Regions from separate parts of the Homo sapiens genome. Here regions 1, 3, 4 and 5 are each linked to region 2. The links are contacts of gene promoters, found by promoter capture Hi-C in blood cells and fetal thymus (Javierre and others, 2016). All regions are on one chromosome and are shown on one strand. The core of a region is centred on a gene start or on the middle of the fragment in contact, and the rest is flanking DNA. Distances in the headings are between cores, read along the strand shown.

Evidence for each region. The method cuts DNA at HindIII sites, captures the fragments that hold promoters and counts their contacts. A CHiCAGO score of 5 or more calls a contact.
Region 1: a contact is called between a fragment that was not itself captured here and the fragment with the promoter of SYTL2 in region 2, in 7 of 17 cell types (total CD4 T cells, activated CD4 T cells, non-activated CD4 T cells and 4 more). The highest score is 8.5, in total CD4 T cells.
Region 3: a fragment that was not itself captured here is called in contact with the fragment with the promoter of SYTL2 in region 2 in 3 of 17 cell types (activated CD4 T cells, total CD4 T cells and naive CD4 T cells); the score reaches 7.7 in activated CD4 T cells.
Region 4: a contact is called between a fragment that was not itself captured here and the fragment with the promoter of SYTL2 in region 2, in 5 of 17 cell types (activated CD4 T cells, non-activated CD4 T cells, total CD8 T cells and 2 more). The highest score is 8.1, in activated CD4 T cells.
Region 5: a contact is called between a fragment that was not itself captured here and the fragment with the promoter of SYTL2 in region 2, in 7 of 17 cell types (activated CD4 T cells, non-activated CD4 T cells, total CD8 T cells and 4 more). The highest score is 9.8, in activated CD4 T cells.

Annotation. Positions count from the first base shown.
Region 1 is chr11:86,260,782-86,265,585 of GRCh38, reverse strand. EED (embryonic ectoderm development) reads right to left here. Exons shown (of 12, transcript NM_003797.5): 7 at 1,323-1,414. Among named protein-coding and RNA genes, the nearest start is that of MIR6755, 15 kb to the left of the region's middle. The HindIII fragment of the contact is 6,340 bases long and covers 1-4,804 here.
Region 2 is chr11:85,808,140-85,812,416 of GRCh38, reverse strand. SYTL2 (synaptotagmin like 2) reads left to right here and starts at 1,276. Exons shown (of 20, transcript NM_206927.4): 1 at 1,276-1,463. RefSeq lists a silencer at 1,138-1,317. The HindIII fragment of the contact is 7,624 bases long and covers 1-4,277 here.
Region 3 is chr11:86,223,344-86,227,930 of GRCh38, reverse strand. No RefSeq gene overlaps it. Among named protein-coding and RNA genes, the nearest start is that of EED, 19 kb to the left of the region's middle. The HindIII fragment of the contact is 7,356 bases long and covers 1-4,587 here.
Region 4 is chr11:86,204,787-86,209,049 of GRCh38, reverse strand. No RefSeq gene overlaps it. Among named protein-coding and RNA genes, the nearest start is that of LINC02695, 13 kb to the right of the region's middle. The HindIII fragment of the contact is 553 bases long and covers 2,517-3,069 here.
Region 5 is chr11:86,281,228-86,285,662 of GRCh38, reverse strand. It overlaps a transcript of EED not described here and the pseudogene LOC100289518. Among named protein-coding and RNA genes, the nearest start is that of MIR6755, 5.1 kb to the right of the region's middle. The HindIII fragment of the contact is 3,432 bases long and covers 190-3,621 here.

The DNA.
Region 1 (4,804 bases), core at 977-3,476, 450 kb before region 2:
GAATTTTTAAAAGTCTAATAAAAAACAGATTTTAACTTTTTTCATTTGCTGTTTACTAATTTTTAACAGGCATGTAACAGATCATCTATTGTAACAACCTCATTTCATAGGCAGACACTAAGGCCCAGAGATGCTATTTAATTTAGCAAAAGGCACATAATGAGTAATGAAAATCTCACACACCTATCCACCTCCAGTGAACTCCTGTATTACACAGAAGAGCTACATACTGTCTCCTGCTCTCATTCTAAGAAATAACAGTAGAGAGTTCTATTGAAGGAGTATATTTTCCTTACTAACCTAGATACTATATGTTAATCCAGCCTTTGCATTAATTATGAGCACCATTTTATAAGAGCCTAAGAACTTTAGGCTTGATGTTTATTGAATTCACAGTTGTGGTACTTCTAATTACCTCACTGTCAACAGCAACAAGACATCCTTCGAGACAATACCACTAATTTGGAGTTATTAATAAAGAACAGTTCACTTGGCTTTTACACACATAAAGCCAGACGTAGAATGCTACTGCAACTTTTAGGAAATCCAAGTTGACAAGGTATTCGAAGGAAGGTATGATTCTCACAAAGGAATCCAAACTTCAACATAGGAATATTTTAGTACCTTCAACTAAAATGTTACATGCTGTAAAATATGGTGCCCCTTTACATAGTTTAATGGAAAACAACCTAAGAGATGTGAAATTACTACAGGAATCAAATGAGCTAAATATGGAACATAAGCAAAAATAATGTTAAAATCTGAAACCTAACTAAAAACACTTGTATAATGGACCAATGGATTACAATACATCAATATAAAGGTGGTATTTATCTTTAAACTGGTCTTGTATTATACCACGCCACCCAAAGAGAATGGCTAGAAATAAGTTACCTAAAACAGTGTGAGCACAATAAAACACTTCCAAATAGCAAAAAACGTTATGTTTCAACTTCAAACAAAAGATGGAAAAGCACTTTAATGGCTACATAGTTTAATTTTTTTCTTTAATAACTGCGAAATGGCAAAACAAACATTAACTTAGTGATTTTAGATTAAAAGGAAAGGAGCAAGATCATACTGCTCTCATAAGACTCCAGGGATTGGTATACAGTGCAAGTAATTTAAAAAATAAATAAATAAATATAGTCTTTACTTGTTTTATTCCTTCATCTGGAGATTAAAATCTTCTATGTCAAATGTAAGTGAATGTCTGCCTGACAGGCTACATGAAACACACTTTCTTATAAGGAAACAGTTCCATGGAGACTGTTCACAGCTATGTAAACCTGAAAGTCATTGCCCTGCAGTTTCCAACTTACAGCACTTAGAACTTCATCTCTGTGCCCTTCTACGCCTCCAAATATTGCCACCAGAGTGTCCGTCTGGATATTCCATAATCGTAAAGCATGATCTAGTATAAACATACAAAAATTAGGCGAATGTTTTTTATTTACTGTGAACTTTCAACATCTTGTGAAAGAAAAACTACTAAAGTCTAGATGTAAGTTATGCACAGTAAAGCCTAAAAATGGAATCCATATTACATAGCAACTTAAAATGTTTACATCAGATGTAGAATTAGCTAGGTAAGTGCTATAGTTTGAATAGGCCCCCCCAAAAGCATGTGCTAGAAACTCAATCCCCAATGCAATAGTGGTGTGAGCTGGGGCCTAATGGGAGGTATTTAGGTCATGGGGGCTCCATCCTCACAAATGGATTAATACTGATTATAAAAGGGCCTGAGGCTATAAATTCAATCTCTTGCTCCCTCACACCCTCTCCTGCCCTTTTGCTGAGACGATTCAGCATGAAGGCTCTCACCAGATGCCGGCACCATGTTCTTGGACTTCCCAGTCTCCAGAAACAGGAGCCAAATAAATTTTTGTTCATTATAAATCACCCAGTCAGGTACGGTGGCTCATGCTTGTAACCCCAGCACTTCAGAAGGCCAAGATGGGAGGACTGCTTAAGCCCAGGAGTTTGAGACTAGCCCTAGCAATATAGCAAGACCCTGTCTCAACAAAAAATTTAAAAATTAGTGAAGCCTGAGCAATAGAAAAGAAATTAATTAATCCATCAGTCAGTCACCTAGTCTGTGGTATTGTGTTATAGCAGCACAAAATGGACTCAGACAGAATGTTGGTACTCAGAAACGGGACTATTGCTATAAATACCTGAAAATGTGGAAATGACTTTGGAACTGGGTAACGAGGAGAGGCTGGAAGAATCTGGAGGAGCAGGCTAGAAAAAGCCTATATTGGTGTGAGTGGAGCATTGAGGGTAATTCCAGTGAGGGCTGAAAAGAAGACAAGAGCTTCAGGCAGAGCCTTTATCTTCTTAAGGATTACTTAAGTGGTTGTGATCAGAATGTTGGTAGAACAATGTTGGTCTCAGACAGAATGAGGTTGGTCTCATTCAGTGAGGTCTCAGACAGAAATGAGAAGTTATTGGAAAATGGAGTAAGAGCTATCCCTGTTGGCAGGGTGTGATGGTTCATGCCTGTAATCCCAGCACTTTGAGATTGAGGCAGGAGGATCACTTGAGGCCAGGAATTCAAGACCAGCCGGGGTAACATAGTGAGACCCAATCCCTACAGAAAATAAATTAGCCAGGTGTGGTGGCGTGTACCTGCAGTTCTAGCTACTTAGGGGACTGAGGCAAGAGGATCAATTGAGCCTAGGAGTTTTGGGCTGCAGTGAGCTATGATCATGCCACTGCACTGCCTGGGTGACAGAGACCAACCCTGTCTTTAAAAGAAAAAAAAAAAAAGCCAGGCCAGGTGTGGTAGCTCATGCCTGTAATTCCAGCAGCATGGGAGGCTGAGGTGGGTGGACACTTGAGCTCAGGAATTCGAGACTAGCCTGGGCAACATGGTGAAACTCCATCTCTACAAAAAATACAAAAACTAGCGGGGTGTGGTGGCATGTGCCTGTAGTCCCAGCTACTCGGGAGGCTGAAGTGGAAGGATCACTGGCATGGTGCCGGCATCCGGTGAGGGCCTTCATGCTGAATCGTCTCACAGCAAAAGGGAAGGAGAGGGTGTGAGGGAGCAGAGGTTGTGCCACTGCACTCCAGCCTGGGTGACAAGAATGAGACCTTGCCTCAAAAAAATAAATTAAATAAATAAATAAAAGCCATCCTTGCAATACAGTTGTGAAGAACTTAGCAGGACTGTGTCCATGCCCTAGGACTTTGTGGAAGGCAGAAGTTAAGAGCAATGAATCCAATACCTGGCAGAAGAAATATCTGAGCATCAAAGCATTCACAGTGATGCATGGCTTCTTCTGGCTGCTTATCATAAAATGAGAAATGATCTAAAGGTGAAATTTGTAATTAAAAAGGAAAGCAAAACAGAAACATTTATAAACTCTCAGCCTGGCCATGTAAAGAAAAAAAAAGCAGGCTGGGTGTGGTGGCTCACACCTGTAATCCCAACACTTTCGAAGGCTGAGGTGGAAGGATCATTTGAGCCCAGAAGTTCAAGACCAGCCTGGGCAACATAGCAAGTCCTTGTCTCTTCAAAAAATATATAAAATAAAAAAGCATGTTTGAGAGAGAATATTAAGGATGTAGCTAAGTGACTAATTGCTAAGGAGATTAATAGGGAAGAGAAGGCAGGTTCTATTCACCAAGACAATGGGATAATGACCACAAAGGCATTTCAGAGATCTTCAAGACATAGCTAAGACCTTGAGGGCAAGGTTTCCAGAGTAGCACCCATGGGACCTCTACATTCACTGTCCAGGGCCACTTCAGCACTTTGCTCCCCCTATTCCAAGGCAGTGCTCTTTGGTCACCCCATAGCTTGAAGGGGCTCAAGTATGGCTCAGGCCATAGCTTCTGAAGGTACAAGCAGCAAATCTTGGCAGTGTCCATGTGGTGTTAAGTCTGCAGATGCAGAGAATGCAGGAACTGTGGAGGCACGGCTTCCTCTCTAGATTTCAAAAGACATCACAAAGAGCCTGGGGCTCCAGGCAGAAACTTTTCAGAAGGGCAGAGCCACACAGCAGTTCCTACTACAGCAACACCTGGTGGAGCCATGGGGAAAAAGCCATCCCCCAAATCCCAGAACTGCTGAGCTACCAGGGCACACCACCAGCCTGCAAGAGCTGCAGGCACCCGACTCCAACTCATAAGATGCTATGTGGGCTGCACGTGGCAAACCCATAAAGATGGGGCTGCCCAAGGCCTCTGGGGCCCAAACTCCACACCCAGCATGCCCAGAAGGCAAAACATGGAGCCAAGGAAGATTATTCTGGTGCCTTGGATTTAATCTTGTTTGTTCTGTTGAGTTTTGGATTTACTTGGGACCAGTTACCCTTATTCTTGCCTATCTCTCCTTTTTGGAAGGGACTGTCTATCCTATGCTTATCCTACCACTGTATTTTGAAAATAGATAAGATGCCTGATTTCCCAGACCCACAGATGGAGAATTTACCTCAGCAGGAATCCTGCCTTGAGTCTCACCCATATCTGATTGAGGATTTGAATTTTGGGGGCTAGAGGCAGAATGCTACAGCTTAAATGAACCCCCGAAAAAGCAGGTTGGGAAACTTAATCCCAATGCAGCAGTGTTGGGAGATGAGACCTAATGAGAAGCGTTAGGTCATGAGAGTACCACTCTTATGAATGAATTAATTCCAATTATATATTAAAAAAAAAAAAGGCTTCAAGTTCAATTTCTTGTTCTTACTTTCTAATGCCAGGTTAAAGTGGACTAAGACAGTAAGTTCAGAAATATTCATGTGGTCTGAAAAATATTTTAAGCATATTTATCTCAAATAACTTTCTTTAAATAACC
Region 2 (4,277 bases), core at 27-2,526:
GAAGGAAGCCAGAATACACATCTCTGCACAGTGCCAGGACTCTTGGGCCAGGCTAGCAGCCTGCACTGGGCACTAACTGAAGCCCTTGGGGATAAGTATTTGTAAGTTTGGGAGAAGGAAGACCTTTGGAAGAACCAAAGGCAGACCTGGGCCACCCTCAGTTAAATGGACAACACTAGTCCAGGAAATGATAAGGAAAAAGGCTTTAAGGTTCATCTCCTTCAGAGGTTTGCCTGGGCTGGCCCCATCATGGGTAACTTGTAAAAAATAGGTCGTGATACAATTTTTAAATTATTTTATTTATTTTTTTGAGACAGAGTCTTGCTCTGTCACCCAGGATGGGGTGCAGTGGTGCGATCTTGGCTCACGGCAGCCTCCACCTCTCGGGTTAAAGCGATTCTCCTGCCTCAGCTTCCTAAGTAGTTGGGACTACGGGCGCTCGCCACCACACCCAGCTAATTTTTCTTTTTTCTTTTCTAATTAGAACAGAGTTTTGCTATGTTGGCCGGGCTGGTCCCGAACTCCTGACCTCGGGTTATCCACCTGCCTCGGCCTCCCATAATGCTGGGATTACAGGTGTGAGCCACCGCGCCCGACCACAATATTGTATTTACTGTATTGCATTGTCTGCCTCCCTGCCACACAGCGTCTTCCAGGAGCTTACCAGTCCTCTGTGCATACCCCAGTAAGTAGCTCAGGCAGTGCATGACGCCCTCACCTTTCTCTAGGTATTATTGTATTTTAAAGCATCACTTCATTTAGTCCTCTCAACAACTTTTTTCCCCCCTTCTTCTATTTCACATGTGAGGAAATTGACGTCCCGAGGGTTAAAGCAAGTTACCCCATGACCGGGCTCCATACCCTCCGCGCCCCTTTCCCTGCGCGGTGGCTGTCCCTTCTCGGAGTGCAGAGGCTCCTAGTGCTCCACACTCTCGGGCTCCAAGGCCCCCTAACGCGCCGTGATAAAAATAATAATAACAATAACAACAGTGCTGCTTTATTTGCACAGAAAACAGGTTGTTTCGGGGCAAGGTACACTTGAGAAGGAGGCTAGGAACCGGAGAGAAGCAGCAGGCGGGGGCGGAGGGCGAAGGGAGGGAAGGGGAGAGGGCAGGGGCTGGCAGGCGCTGTGTGCCGGGCGAGGAGGCCGGGGCGGGCCGGGGCGGGGAGCGGGCGAAGCGCCATTGGCCCGAGCACCCGGGACCGGCCCCACCGCACCGCCCGCCGGGGGCGGGGGTAGCGGGGAGGGACTCGCGCACGCCGCTCTGCGTTGACAGTGCCGGGCGACACCCGGGCCGTGCCGCCAGCGTCCGTCGGGAGAGTGAAGGCTCGCAACGCCTTGCCCGGGGGAAGGTAACGCGCCGCGCCCGGGGCTGCGCGGTTTGCACCGCCAGGCCGAGGGCTGGGGGCCAGAAGACAAGAGAGACGGCGAGGCGCGCTCCCTGCCCGGCAGCGACTCGGAGGTGCGCACTCGGGTTCCAGTCTCTACTTGGCCCACTCGCTGTGTTACCTCGGGCAACTTTGTTTCCCTCTCTTGGTCTCTGCTTCCTCCTCTGTTAAGTGAGGGAGGTGGTGTAGAATGTTGTTCCTTAGTCTAACCAGTTCTAAAATGGGAACTGCGTTTTGGCACGGGGAAAGCTCCTTTCCTCAGTTTCCCACCTACTCCAGAGCCACCTCCGCTGCCCAGGCGGCCAGGAAGCTGGGATGCCCGGGTAGGCGAGGGTTCTGCTGAGCTATCGCGTTTTCTAGGGCTTTCAGGGACTGACCTGGGCTTGGGGCTGGGTGCTGGGGAGACCTGGCTGCAGAGTAACTGCCCCCAGATTGCTCAGGTGCAGAAAGGTAGGAGCGTCAGCACCTGTTTACAGGTGGGGTGTTGGGAAGGGCCGGCCAGGGGATGATGATTTCTCCTTTGAAAATAAGACGTGTTTTGGAATTCTCTTCCATACCCACACCTCGTCCCACGGCGAGCTATAAACTACACGAGTGGGCTTTATCATCCTTTGAAGTGGAAAAGCGACTGTTTTTAGCGTCTAAGACACAGGGCTCCACCAGCATATAGGAAGTGGGTCTCTCTTTCTCTGCACCCATCCTGCCGCGTCTTCCCTTTCTTTCCTCCTCTCTTTATAAATCCCCTTTGACCTTGAGGGGCTCCACTTCCTGCCTTAATGAAAAGTTCTTCTTTTCATTTAGTGCTGGTTTGTGACCAGCAGCCTCCAGGGCTTTGGGCGCAGGGTTGAGATAGAAGCCTAGATAAGAACAGGCTATGAATCACCCTGTCAGCCCCCTGAGCCACACAGCCCGGCAGGGATGTGCAGAGGAAGCCCGGTGGGGCTTCAGACAGATAGACCCTGGAAGGTGGGGTGGATGCAAACTGCCATCCAGCTTCCCGTCCCCTTGTTGGCAGCCATTCCCCACCAGGATGGTGACCCCTGCTGTCTGCTGGATGGAGCAGCCAGATAGAGTAGGATGATTGAAAGGAGCTGAGGACTTGGCTGGATTTCTATGGAAGGTCTCCAGCATTTCCCTTCCCTCACTTTCCTCCACCCCTGAAGTTCTGCCCCTTCTCACCCTTAGTGTGGTATCCAGGTGAAATCAGATTGCAGAACCCATCAAGAGCAGCTAGGAAGGAGAAGAGGTGTGGGGACGGCAGCAGGGCAATGTTGACTGCTGTTTAGTGGGCACTTACTATGGGCCAGACACTTCTTTGTATGTAATATATCCTTAATTCTCACAAAGCCACATGAGGGGTGATGTACTATACCCTATTTTATAGGTGAGAAACAGGCTCAGAAAGATTGCTTCCTTTAGTCACTTAGCTAGGAAGTAGCATAGCTGGAATTCAAATCCAATCTCTGATTCTAAAACCTGTGTTCTTTACACTGTCTTTGTGCTCCTTAAGTAAGAGCAAGCTGGAATAAGGAGAGCAAAAATGTCTAACATTGTGTTCTCACCAGGTGTCAGGCACTATGCAAAACATCTTAGAGCTATTATGTCATTTATGGTGCAGGAGTTTCCGTTATTCTGGAGGTAATCTGTGACTGCCTTAGCCTCTCAGCAGCAGTACTGTTCTAGAAGGCCTACCCTAATCCTGCCCAGCTGCTAGTGCGTGGGTGGGGCAGGGCCCTGTTTGCTTTATCCTAGAGGTGGTTTGGGGTCTAATGAAAGATTGATTGTCCACATCTGACCCGTTAGCCCTAACCGTTGGCTGGTGAATGATTCCACTGTCCCCTAAGAGGCCTTTTTCAGGTTTTGCTCAATAAACATTTGTGGAATGAATGAATTAGCACCTTGTGCAGAGTGGTCTGCTGCCTTGTAGAAATGTGAGGCAGCCTAGGGGAAGCCCAGGTTCCACCATCTTCAAAACCCAGATGCTAGTCTAGGTGTTTCTCCTCTTTGGGCAAGGGAGGTAGGGTGAACTGTGCCTGTATAGGCTTCCAGAGCTCCCTGGAAATATGTTTGCTTGTCACCTGTTTTACAAAGAATTTTTAAACATACAGTAGATGAAGAAAAATGTGGCTTTTTTTTTTTTTAAATTAAGAGGAAAACTTACTTGGTATTAATGAGGTTGTCACTCTCTCAAAAGTTGGGGGGATAAGATTATAATGTTTGTCTTAGGGCTTACCAAACTTTTCCATAGAAGATCCTGCAATGGAAAAGAAGACCAACACATGCTCCTGTGCTTATGCAATTTTTTTCATTTGATTTCATAATATATGGACTTTGATTTAAAAATATAAAGTTTTTTCTTCAAAATATCTGAATAAAACTGGTGTCCTGGCAGATTGTTATATATTCTTAGGGGCTTCGAGTACCCAGATGGAGAAGTAGGACCAAGGTTCTAGAGGGCTTAGACTACTGTTTGAATTTTCCACTCTCTGGTTCACAGTAATAGAGCTTCTCTAGTCCCTGGGGAGACATCCACTTTTTTCCCATTTTTCAGAATGAAGAATGTTTTAAAAATAAAAATATCCTTTATTTTCTTATTACCAAAACTAAACATATTCATTGTAGAAAAAAATATAAGATCCAGATTAACATTAATAATAATATCAGGCCGGGTGCAGTGGCTAATGCCTGGAATCCCAGCACTTTGGGAGGCCGAGGCAGGTGGATCACAAGGTCAGGAGTTCGAGACCAGCCTGGCCAATATAGTGAAACCCCATCTCTACTAAAAATACAAAACTTAGCTGCGCGTGGTGGCATGCGCCTGTAGTCCCAGCTGCTCAGGAGGCTAAGGCAGGAGAATCTCTTGAACCCGGGAGGCGGAGGTTGCAGTG
Region 3 (4,587 bases), core at 789-3,288, 410 kb before region 2:
ACCTATATATTCTACCGCCTATTGGATATAACCACCTGTAGGCCCCAGAAGGTCAAACATCCAAAACACAAGTAATCATCTTTCCCCCTGTACTTGTTCCTTTCTGATGTGGTGACTAATACTAAGTGAGCCAATCCAGAAACCTGGTATTCATCCTAGATTCTGCCCATCCAATCAGACCCCTGTCAGATCAGCCAAAGGTCTGTAGATGTTATCCCTTCACGGTTTTCTAACATCATATCGCCTCCTCTCCATTTCCATTGCTATCACCTCAGTTAAAATCCTCATAAATTATTTCTTGGATGACTTGAATAGTCCCTCTTCTGGCCACTCTCTGTCTTTACTGGTTCTCCTCTAATCTATTCTCATTGTAGTTATAGTAAACTTTCCATATAATCCTGTCATTCTGCTTAACACCAATCTGGCTCTGCATGTCTTTTAGGATAAGGTCAAATTCTTTATGTTATTAGATGAAGCCCTTTATGATCTTGTTAATTATTTTAAAATTATTATTATTATTATTAGAGACATGGTCTCATTCTGTCAATCAAGCTGGAGTGCAGTGGCACAATCATAGCTCACTATAACCTTGAACTCCTGGCCTCAAGTGATCCACCCACTTCGGCCTCCCAAAGTGCTGGGATTACAGGCATGAGCCTCCGCACCCAGCCTAATTTTTATACTTGATCTTAGTCAAAAGGCTGAGAAGCAATCCTGACCTAATTTTCTATTTAGTTTTTCTGCTGGGCATTCTGCCACATTTGCCCTCTCTCCACACAGTTCTTCTCTAGTAACAAACAAGTTCATTTCCAAATGGCTCTTTCTAAGTTTATTTGTTCGCAAGACCAAAAGAACTAAGAGATGTTTATGTTTGCAAGCCCTGGATGGAATTCCACCAGATAAGTTCTCTGAAGAGAACCAGCACACTTACTGTTTGTAATAGCAAAAGACTACAATATAGATCCATCAATGGGGTATTGATTATATAAGTTATAGTATATCTATAATGTAGTCTTTAAAATAAATAAGGTATATCTATATGAATTGATATAGAACAATCTCCAAAATATATTACATGGGAAAAAAGTTACAGAACAGTGTGTATAATGTGCCCTTATGTGTATGAAAGGAAATATTTAAATTCCTAATAAAGGTCACCTTTAGGCAGGGAACTGGGGGTATAGGAAAGAAGGAAAAGTTGGTTTTTACTGTGTGTCTTTTTTATACTATTTGAATTATAAACATTTATAATTATTGCTTTAAAAAATTAGTTTGCCTTCAACATCACAGACTAGACATGCTCTATTCTACTTCCTGTACAATCTCTCAGCTATCTTTTCTCATATACTAGTTTCCACCACGTTGAACATATGTTTAGGAAGGAAATCTCCCTCTTTGGTGATGGCTGCAAGTGTAGAAATCTCCTTGGCAGCTATGATGTCCTTAAACTACAGAACTTAAGTGTGGCTATGTAAAAAGTTCCATCAGGTGCATTTTTATCATGTTCAGTCCTCAAGTTCCTAAACAAATGATGTTTTTATCCAGAATTAACTTGATTCTGGCATCTGACATTAATATTCCTTCTCTAGCTGTACACCCATAAAGCCTTTCCTTCTGACAATTTTTTTATTCTTCTTGCTTATTATTGTTGATAGCATAGATATATGAGTGATTGCATGATCAGACATTTGTTCCTCAGAATTGTCATTATTCCTGAACAATTTATCCCATCACTACATACATTTATCATCTTCAATTTTTACATCTATTTTTGTTTTTAAACTAATTGCCTGTCTCTCCCTACTAACATTGTTAATACTCCAGATGCATTTGATCTTACTGAACATGAAAGATCAATGATAACATTTGTAATTTTTGTAAAACATTGAAAATTAAGAGCAAATCCATCAATTATACAAAGATCAAAGGCCATAAAGTTGTGTTCTCCAGGCTTCAGCCTGCATAGTTTTTTTTTGTTTGGCCCACATAACATTTTTTGTTTTATTTATCTATGTATTTAGGTTATTTTGTTTTTAAAATGTAACTTTTAAGTTCAGGAGTAAATGTGCAGGTTTGTTATACAAGTAAACTTCTTTCACGGGAGTTCGTTGTACAGATTATTTCATCAGCCAGGTATTAGGCCTAGTACCCATTAGTTATTTTTCCTGATCCTCTCCCTCCTCCTAACCTCCACCCTCCAATAGGCCCCAGTGTGTATTTTTTCCCTCTATGTAACCATTTATTCTCATCACTTAGCTCCCACTTGTAAGTGAGCGCACGTGGTATTTAGTTTTCTGTTCCTACATTAGTTTGCTAAGGATAATGGCCTCCAGCTCCATCCATGTTTCCTCAAAGGACATGATCTTGTTCTTTTTTATGGCTGCATAGTATTCCATTGTGTATATGTACCACATTTTCTTTATTCGGTCTACCAGTGATGGGCATTTAGGTTGATTCCATGCCTTTGCTATTGTCAATAGTGCTGCAATGAACATACATGTGCATGTGTCTTTATGACAGAATGATGTATATTTCTTTGGGTATATACCCAGTGATGGGATTGCTCTGTTGAATGGTATTTCTGTTTTTAGGTCTTTGAGGAATCACCACACTGTCTTCCACAATGGCTGAACTAATTTATCCTCCCATCAACAGTGTATAAGCATTCCTTTTCCTCCACAACCTCATTAGCATCTGTTATTTTTTGACTTTTTAATAATAGCTATTCTGGGTCAGGTGTGGTGGCTCATGCATGTAATCCCAGCACTTTGGGAGGCTAAGGCGAGTGGATCCCTTTAAGTCAGGAGTTCAAGATTAGCCTGCCAACATGGTGAAACCCCGTTTCTACTAAAAATACAAAAATTAGCTGGGCACAGTGGCATGCACCTGTAATCCCAGCTACTAGGGAAGCTGAAGCAGGAGAGTCACTTGAACCTGGGAGGCAGAGGTTGCAGTGAGCTGAGATCGCACCACTGCACTCTAGCCTGGGTGACAGAGTGAGACTCTGTCTTAAAAAAAAATAGAACCGTTCTGACTGGTGTGAGATGGTATCTCATTGTGGTTTTTATTTGCATTTCTCTAATGATCAGTGACGTTGAGTTTTTTAATGATTGTTGGCCACATATATGCCTTCTTTTGAAAAGTGCCTGTTCACGTTTTTTGCCCACTTTTTAATGGGCTGTTTGTTTTTTTCTTGTAAATTTAAGTTCCTTGTAGATGCTGGATATTATTAGACCTTTGTCAGGTGTATAGTTTGCAAAAATTTTCTTACATTCTGTAGGTTGTCTGTTTACTCTATTGATAGTTTCCTTTCCTGTGCAGAAGCTCTTTAATTAGATCCCTTTTGTCAATTTTTGCTTCTGTTGCAATTGCTTTTGGTGTCTTTATCATGAAACCTAAGTCTTTAATCCATCTTCAGTTGATTTTTCTACATGGTTTAAGGAAGGAGATCCAATTTCAGTCTTCTGTATATGGCTAGCCAGTTATCCCAGCACCATTTATTGAATAGGAGTCCGTTCCCCATTGTTTTTGTCAGCTTTGTCAAAGACTAGATAGTTGTAGGTGTGTGGCCTTATTTTTGGGTTCACTATGCTGTTCCATTGGTCTCTGTGTCTGTTTTTGTACCATTACCATAGTGTTTTGATTACTATAGCCCTCTAGTATAATTTGAAGTCAGGTAGAGTGACATTTCCAGCTTTCTTTTTTTGCTTAGGATTGCCTTGCCTATTTGGGCTCTTTTTGTTTCCATAGGAACTTTAAAATTGTTTTTTTCTAGTTCTGCAAGGAATGTCATTGGTAGTTTAATAGGAATAGCATTGAATCTATAAATTGCTTTGGGCAGTTTGGCCATTTTAATGATGTTGATTCTTCCTATCCATGAGCATGGATTTTTTTTTGATTGTGTCATCTCTGATTTCTTTGAGCAGTGTTTTGTAGTTCTCCTTGTAGAGATCTTTTACCTCCCTTAGCTGTATTTCTAGGTTGTGTGTGTGTGTGTGTGTGTGTGTGTGGCAATTGTGAATGGGATTGCATTCCTGATTTGGCTCTCAACTTGACTGTTGTTGGTGTGTAGGAATGCTACTTATTTTTGCACATTGATTTTATATCCTGAGACTTTGCTGAAGTTGCTTATCAGCTGAAGGAGCTTTTGGACCAAGACTATGTTTGCAGACAACAGTTTAAAATTTTGTATTAGTTATCAGCATTTGCAAGTTGAAAGAAAAACAAAGCCATAGCAATACTGAAGCTACATTCTGACAAGGTAACATCAGCTGGCACTGTGGCTGCTCACCCTTGCAAGGGGCACATACAGTTCATTTCACACTTCACACTCCAGCTTACCTCCAGCTTACTTCAAGTCCTTGCTCTGCCGACTTCACTCATGGTAGGCATTAGACTGAGGAATAACCCAATGGTCACATGGCTAGGGCTAAAATGACCCTACCTGACCACTAACTCCTGGCATGCCTGAAATAGTTGATGTATCTTTGCTCCAGAGCAGAGCTTTGTATTTCTGAATGTTCACAGGTTGAAACTTTTTAAGGAGACGTGTAATAAATGACAGCTTACTGGTTAAGTTGTGATCTC
Region 4 (4,263 bases), core at 1,544-4,043, 400 kb before region 2:
TTTTTTGTAGTGAGAACATTTAAAATCTATTGTCTTAGCAATTTTCCAGAATACAATACAGTATTCTTAACTATCATCACTATGCTGTACAATAGATCTCCAGAATTTATTCATCCTAACAGTTAGAAACCCTCTACCCTTTGACAGTATCTCCCCATTCCTTTCTCCTTACCCCCAGGCCCTGTTAACCACCATTTTACTCTCTGCTTCTATGAGTTCCACATATAAGTGAGATCTGTAGTATCTGTAGTCTTTCAGTGCCTGGCTTATCTCACTTAGCATAATATCCTTTAGGTTTACCCAGATTGTCATAAATGACAGAACTTCCTTATTTTGAAAGGCTGAACAATATTACATTGTGTGTGTGTGTGTAAAACATTTTCTTTATCCATTCATCCATTGATGGACACTTAGATTGATTTTCTGTCTTGGCTGTTGTGAATAATGCTGCAATGATTGTGGGGATGCAGATATCTCTTCAATATATTGATTTCCTTTCTTTTGGATATATATCCAGAAGTGGGATTGCTGGGTCATAAGGTAGTCCTATTATTAATTTCTGAGGAACCTCTACGTGATTTTCCATAGTGGCTGTACCAATTTACATTCTGACCCACATTGTACAAGGGTTCCCCTTTGTCCACATCCTCACCAACATGTATTATCATTTGTCTTTTTGATAGCTATTCGAACATGTGTGAGGTGATATCTCATTGTGGTTTTAATTTAACTTACATTTTCCTGATAATTAGTGATGTTGACCATTTTTTCATATACCTGTTGGCCATTCATACGTCTTCTTTTGAGAAATGTCTATTCAGGTCTTTTGCCTTTCTTTTCTCTTTTTTTTTTTTTTTTTTTTTTTGAGACGGAGTTTCACTCTTGTTGCCCAGGCTGAGTACAATGGCACAATCTCAGCTCACCGCAACCTCTGCTTCCCGGGTTCAAGAGATTCTCCTGCCTCAGCTTCCTGAGTAGCTGGGATTACAGGCGTGCACCACCACACCCAGCTAATTTTGTATTTTTAGTAGAGACAGGGTTTCTCCATGTTGGTCAGGGTGGTCTTGAACTCCCAATCTCAGGTGATTTGCCCACCTCGGCCTCCTAAAGTGCTGGGATTACAGACGTGAACCACTGCACCCGACCCTTTGCCCATTTTTAAATCTGGTTATGTGTTTTCTTGTTATTGAGTTGTTTGAATTCCCTGCATAGTTTGAATACTAACCTCTTATCAGATATATGGCTTGCAAATACTTTCTTTCATTCTATAGGTTGTTTCTTGTCTTTTTTCTCCTGCACATAGCTTGTATTCCATAGATTGTTTCTTTTTCTATAGGAAGCTTTTTAGTTTGATGCACTCTCGTTTGTCTATTTTTGTTTTTGCTGCCTGTGCTTTTAGGGTCATAACCAAAAAAAGTTATTGTTGAGGACAACGTCAAGAAGCTTTTTTCCTATGTTTTCTTCTAGTAGTTCTACAGTTTCAGGTCTTATGTTTAAGTCTTGAATCCATTTTGAGTTGATTTTTTTTTTTGCATATGGTGTGAGACAAGGGTCCAGTTTTATTCTTTTGCATGTGGATATCCAATTGTCCCAATACCATTTATTGAATAGTCTGCCCTTCTCTCATTGTGTGCTCCTGGCACCTTTGTTAAAGATCAATTGACCATAAATGTGTGGAATTATTTCTGGACTCTCCATTCTGTTCTATTGGTCTATATGTCTGTTTTTAATGCCAGTACCATGCTATTTTAGATCACCTGTACTTCTATATGACCAGCCATAAATCAAATATCCCCATAACCCCCTCCTAAGTTTCAATGATTTCCTAGACTGGCCAACAGAACTCAGGAAGGCACTTTACTTATATTTGTATTTTAAAGGATACAAATGAAGAGCCAATGAGTGGTATAGGGACGAGGCCCAGGAAAGTCCCAAGCATAACAGCTTCTGTACCATGGAGCTGGGGTGTGCTACCCTCCCAGAATGCGGATGTGTTAACCAACTGGGAAGCTCTCTGAACTCCATTGCTTATGGGTTTTTTTTTTTTTTTTTTTTTTTTGAGAAAGAGTGTCGCTCTGTCGCCCAGGTTGGAGTGCAGTGGCGCAATCTCGGCTCACTGCAAGCTCCGCCTCCCGGGTTCACGCCATCCTCCTGGCTCAGCCTTCTGAGTAGCTGGGACTACAGGCGCCTGCCACCACGCCCGGCTAATTTTTTGTATTTTTAGTAGAGACGGGGTTTCACCGTGTTAGCCAGGATGGTTTCGATCTCCTGACCTCGTGATCCGCCCACCTCGGCCTCCCAAAGTGCTGGGATTACAGGCGTGAGCCACCGCGCCCGGCCAGCTTATGGGTTTTTATGCAAGTTTCATTAAGTAGACATGATTCATTAAATCATTGACCATTGGTGATTGAACTCAATCTCTACCCCCTCTCCCCTCCCCAGCAGAATGGGGATGAAAGTTCCAAGTTTCTAATCAAGACTTGGCCTTTTTGGCTTCCAGCCCCTATGCTGAAGCTTGCTAGGGGCCGTCAGCCACCAGACATCTAATTAGCATGCAAAATATAGTCTTACCCTTATCATTCCCAGGATTCCAAAATGTTTCGGGAGCTGTGTGCCAGGAATCTGGGACAAAGATAAGACAAAGATATTTACTTTTTATAATACCATAAAGGCCATTTTTGCTTGCTGCTTCTTGTTATCTGGTGATGTTGTTAAGCATGAAGAAATCATTCTAAAATCTGAGGCTGAAAGTTCATATCAATAACTAAAACTGTACAGATTTAAATGTGTGTTGACTTTAACTTAGAATGCACATCCATTCAGATGTTACATATGCACATTCACAAGGCACATTTGAAGCCTATGCTGTGAATGAAGAGTAGTCTGGGAGGCCCTGCAGCCCTTAGCAATTTGGTCTTTACTTGGAGTTTGTATTTCCTTCCTCGCTTTTTATATTACGTGGCCTTGTCTCATGATGGCACCATTGTGACATATTGTACCAGCTGGCCACACTCTGTTCAACTGTTGTTTGCTTAATGCATTCTCTCATGATAAACTGGACCCAAAGCTTACCTATTCTGCCCCCCACTCCAACTTTAGAATGGCAGGCAAATGATGAAGTTTCCCATGGGAAATCTCTTTTATTTCTTTTTAATATTTTATGTATGTATTTATTATTTAGAGACACTGTCTCTCTCTCTCTCTGTCACCCAGGCTGGAATGCAGTGGCGCAATCATAGCTCACTGCGGCCTAGAATTCCTGGGATCAAACGATCCTCCTGCTTCAGGCTCCCAAAGCGCTGGGATTACAGGTGTGAGCCACCACGCCTGACATCTGCAGGAAATTTTAACTTTATTTTCACCACCATTAGTTCAATTACGATCAAGAATTTACACGTACAAGTCTTGTAAGCAGCTTTGTATTGCTTAACTCCATTTTTGCAATCATCTTAGCTACTGTTTCTGTATTGATGTTACGCAAACGTATACCACTTTATTGGTAAACTGTTTGTTATTTTGTTTTTATATTTTAGTTGGTTCTACTTCTTTGGGTGTCTTTTCTATTGTCTTATTCCTTAATGTGTATGCTTTAAATGTGTATGTCTGAGATACTGTTAAAAAAAAAGATTAATTTTACATTTGGATGGCTGGTAAATAACATAATTTTAGTGGACATTTATTACAATAAATAAAAGAGAAGAGTAAATTCTTGTAGGTTTCTATGAAATCAGTTTTCTTGTAGCATTATACTCACCTAATATAGACTAAACAAAACATTCCTGTGCTTAACAATTAGTAGCAAGTCCATGCCATTCACTAAATATTTATTGAGGACTTTCTCTGGGCCAGACACATATGGGGTAGAGCTCACAGGACATAGCAAGATGCTGTGTGTCTAGAGTTAAAAGAGCAACAACAGGCCCTATCACTCTTCTGCTTAAAATACTTGGATAGCCTTAGGTCCAAATCAGTTCAAAATATTCCTTTACCATCCAGACACTGGCTCAAGGAGCTCAAAAAGGGAAAAGGTGGCTTTAAAATACTGAGCTGTGGCTGGGTGTGGTGGTTCATGCCTGTAATCCCAGCACTTTGGGATGCTGAAGAAGGTAGATCACCTGGGGCTAAGAGTTTGAGACCAGCCTGGCCAACATGGTGAAACCTCATCTCTACTAAAAATACAAAAAATTAGCTGGGTGTGGTGGTGCACACCTGTAGTCCCAGCTACTCGGGAGGCTGAGGCATGAGAATTTCTTGAACCCAAGA
Region 5 (4,435 bases), core at 656-3,155, 470 kb before region 2:
TCACACCCCTGCACTCCAGCCCGGGCAACAAGAGCGAAACTCTGTCTCAAAAAAATAAAATGATCATTACACAATATGAAAATGAATAATAAAATTCATGCTAACAATTTTACTTTACTTAGAATGGCATTAAGTAGCAAAATTTAAAACCACGACCAGTTGAGAAATTGTTAAAGGATGGAAAAAGCTTTATAGTTAGTACCTTTAACCTAATTTTTCCTTTTAATTTTTTTTTCTTTTTTTGAGACAGGGTCTTGCTCTGTCACCCTGGCTGGATTGCAGTGGTGTGATCACAGCTCACTGCAGCCTCAGCCTCCTGGGCTCAAGTGATACTCCCACCTTAGCCTCCCTAGTAGCTGGGACTACAGGTGCACACTACTCCACCCAGCTAATTTTCAAATATTTTGTAGAGACAGCGTCTTGCTATGTTGCTTAGGGTGGTCTCAAACTCCTGGGCTCAAGCAGTCCTCCTGCCTTGGCCTCCCAAAGTGCTGCGATTACAGGCATGAACCACCGTGCCCAGCCTTTTCTGTTTTTTGGTTTTTCGTTTTTGAGACAGAGTCTCACTCTGTTGCCCAGGCTGGAGTGTGGTGGCACAATCTCAGCTCACCGCAACCTCTGCCTCACGGGCTCAAGTGATTCTCATGCTTCATCCTCCCAAGTAGCTGGGATTACAGGCACATGCCATCATGCCTAGCTAACTTTTGTATTTTTGGTAGAGACGAGGTTTCACCATGTTGGCCAGGCTGTCTCAAACTCCTGACCTCAGATGATCCGCCCACCTCAGCCTCCCAAAGTGCTGGGACTACAGGCATGAACCACCGCACCCGGCCCAAGGAGTTTGCCTTTTCATTTTGCACTGGGCCCTGGATATTACATAGCTGACCTTGTCTTCAGGACTAGGAAAAGGACCGATAGAATCCTGTGTTCCTTTTGAATTAATCTACATTTCTTTGACAACAAGCTGGACATAGGCTTCATGAAGTACAGGGGGCTCCAGGAATACTTTGTTCTGAAATCCAAGAATCCTCACTGTATCCTTTACCCAAGCTCTGGCATATGTCATCATGACTTTGGTTCCCTTGGGGCAAAGAGCATACTTTTGGCCTGAATGGACATTGAGTGTGGGGGTGCTTAACACCTCTGAACAGGTCTTGTCCACTTTTGAGTTGGAGGGCAGGTCAGCTAGGTGTGCACTTCCAAAAGAGCCCTCACTGTCCAAGGTGCAGTTGTAATCCAGGAAGGAAATGAGGTCCATGATGTGCCACTATGTGGAGAACTCACAGGTTATCACAACACTGAAACTCTTGATGAATGATTACTGGAGGAGGGAGTTTACATCGTGTCAGGCCCTACACTATGGAGTGTAGGGATGCCACCCTTGGTTCCCATTGTCCAAAAACAAAACCCAGGAACTTCCACATCTTACTGTCCTTCACATTGGTGTGGAAGGCTTTGAAGAATCTGCTGTCCTGATGAGCGCCTTGTCTCACCACAAAAGGCTACAACAGGGATATGGCATCAATTGGATCCTCATCCAGCTTGAAATAAACCGTGGAAGCTGCTTTTCCTCAGGACCCGATAGAGGGTGAAGTTCTGGGCTTGGTAGAGACTGAAGCAGACTGGCACATCAGTGGTCACGACTGCAGTCAAAGTGGGAGACACGATGGTAAGGAAGATGCCAGAACCACCTGCTATTTCTCCTAGCTCTATCATACATGCCCACATGGCACTCAAGTATCCTGGTAGCAAGTAAGATAATTACCTCTTCAAATATTTCCTTCACTTCATTCTCTTTTTTTTTTTTTTCTGGATCTCCAATTAAATATATTGTTAGATCTTTTCATTTTATCCTCTATATTTCTTAACCTCTCATATTCTCCATTTTCTTGATTCTCTGTGCCACATTCTGGTAATTTCTACAGATCACCTCCAATTCACTAATTTCTATTCAGCTGTGACTAATCTAACCCGTCCGTTGAATTTTTTACTTCAACAAATGTATTTTTCATTTGTAAAAGTTCTATTTGTTTCCCTCTCATATTCACCTCGTCAGTCATCATAGCCTCTTACTGTTAGCTTATTTTTATGACTGTTTAATTCTGACCCCTGTTACATGAAAGGCACTGCTCTAGGTGCTGGGGTTATAGCAGTGAAATAAAAACCCTGCTCTCATATAGACTACATCACAGTAGCAGAAGAAATACAATAAACCAAATAAGCAAATTACGCAGTATAGTAGGTGATAATTGAAATGGAGAGTAACAAAACAAGGAGAAAGTACAGAGAGGAAGGAGAGTTGCAATTTTAAAATAAGGTGGCTGTTTTATATTACCTGAAAATTGCAATATCTAAAGTCTTTGGTGGTCTATTTTTATTTATTTTTTTATTTTTTATTGTTTCAACCCTCAGCCATAGAGCTTGCTTCATTGTCAATCTGGTGATCTTTGATTATAAACTATTCGGTTGACTTAAATCTTCAACAACTTTAGGGGCCTCCTTAAGACTTATTTTGTTTGTTTTGCTTTAATAACTAGTATCCACTGAAGGGGTTATCAAACTATGGCTTGTGGACAGAATCTAGCCAACTGCCTGTTGTTTGTTGTTCTTTTTTTTCCCTCCTGCCTCAGCCTCCCAAGTAGCTGAGAATACAGGCATGCACCATCATGCCTGGCTAATTTTTTTTTGTATTTGTAGTAGAGGTGGGGTTTCACTATGTTGCCCCGGCTGGTCTTGAACTCCTGGGGTCAAGCAATCTGTCCACCTTAGCCTCTCAGAGTGCTGGGATTACAAGCATGAGCCACTATGCTCCACCACTGCCTGTTTTGGTAAGTAAAGTTTTATTGGTACACAGCCATACCCAGTTGTCTACGGCTGCTTTCGCCCTACAGCAGCAGAGTTGAATAGTTATGACGAGACTGTATGGCAAGGCCTAAAATATGTACTATCTAGCTCTTTACAGAAAAAACACCCTGATCTGCAGAGATAATATACAGGAAACTAGTAACAACAAAACTGGAATGGGTACTACCATATGTGTTGGGGCAAGTGTAATTTGGTACAAACTTAATAAGAAAGAAATATCCTATCTAATTATAAAATGAGCCTGAGAGTTACACAAAGACTTGTGTACTGGCCTGTTATTCAAAATACTACCTATAATAGCAAAAATCTGGAAGAAATGAACATGTCCAACAACAAGGCATTAAATAGATAATGGTACATTCATGGAAATGTATTAAAAGATATGCAAGCAGAATAATCTGTTAAGAATTACTGGGAATCTGAAAATGCAGCATATAAACAATATATTCAGACAATCACAATTCTTTAAACTTACACACACAAAATACATCCCATCACTAAAAGCAATTATTTCTGTGTACAAAAATTAAAGGTAGTTTTTACTTTTTTCTTTATACTTCTAAATAAACTGCATATATAATTTAGAAATTACTTTTTAAAGGGTGAGCATGGTATTGATATTTTGTTTAAAGTCTTTCTTGGAAATATAGAGTAAATTTTTACAGTTAAAATAAAGTCTGGGATGTGCTTCGAAACAATCTGGTGTAGATGTATAGATAAATCAAGATTGGCTATGTATTGATAATTGTTGAAGCTTGACTTGGTTCATAGTATTCACTACTCTCTTCACTCTTCTATATGTTTGAAACTTTCAAGTATAAAGTTAAGAAAAACAACCCTGTCTTGTCTTTTCGGAAACATAATACTCAACATATCAAAGCTGGTTTTATCTTTCCTAAGACACTGTGTAAGAAATATACTGGACAATTATTGGGTCAAAAAAGAAACTACAAGAGAAAATGAAAGATGTCTTGAAAGCCTGGCACAGTGATGCATGCCTACAGTCGTAGCTACTTGGGAAGCTGGGGCAGGAATGGATCACTTGGACCCAGGAGTTCGAGGGTGCAGTGACAGCTATAACTGCACCTGCGAATAGCCACTGAACTCTAAGCCTGAACAACATAGCAAGACCCCGACTCTAGAAACATATATAAAGATACCTTGAGACAAATGAAAATGGAAACACATGTCAAAACTTATGGGATGCAGCAAAAACAGTTTTAAGAGGGAAGTTTATAGCATTAAATGCCTGCATTAAAAAAGATCGCAAACCAACAACCTAAACCTCAACACCTCAAGGAACTAGAAAAAGAACAAACTAAACCTCAAGTTAGTGGAAGGAAATAACAAAGATCAGAGCAGAAATAAATGAAATAGAAAATAAAAAAATGAAAAAACAAAAAGCTAAACAAAATTGACAAACCCTTATAGCAACACTTAATAAGAAAAAAAGGACTCAAATCAGAAATGAAAGAGGAAATATTACAACTGTTAATACACCAAGTCTCTCATCAAAGAAAAGCCCAAGACGGCACTTTTCTGTTTCTATTAAACATTTAAAGAATTAATA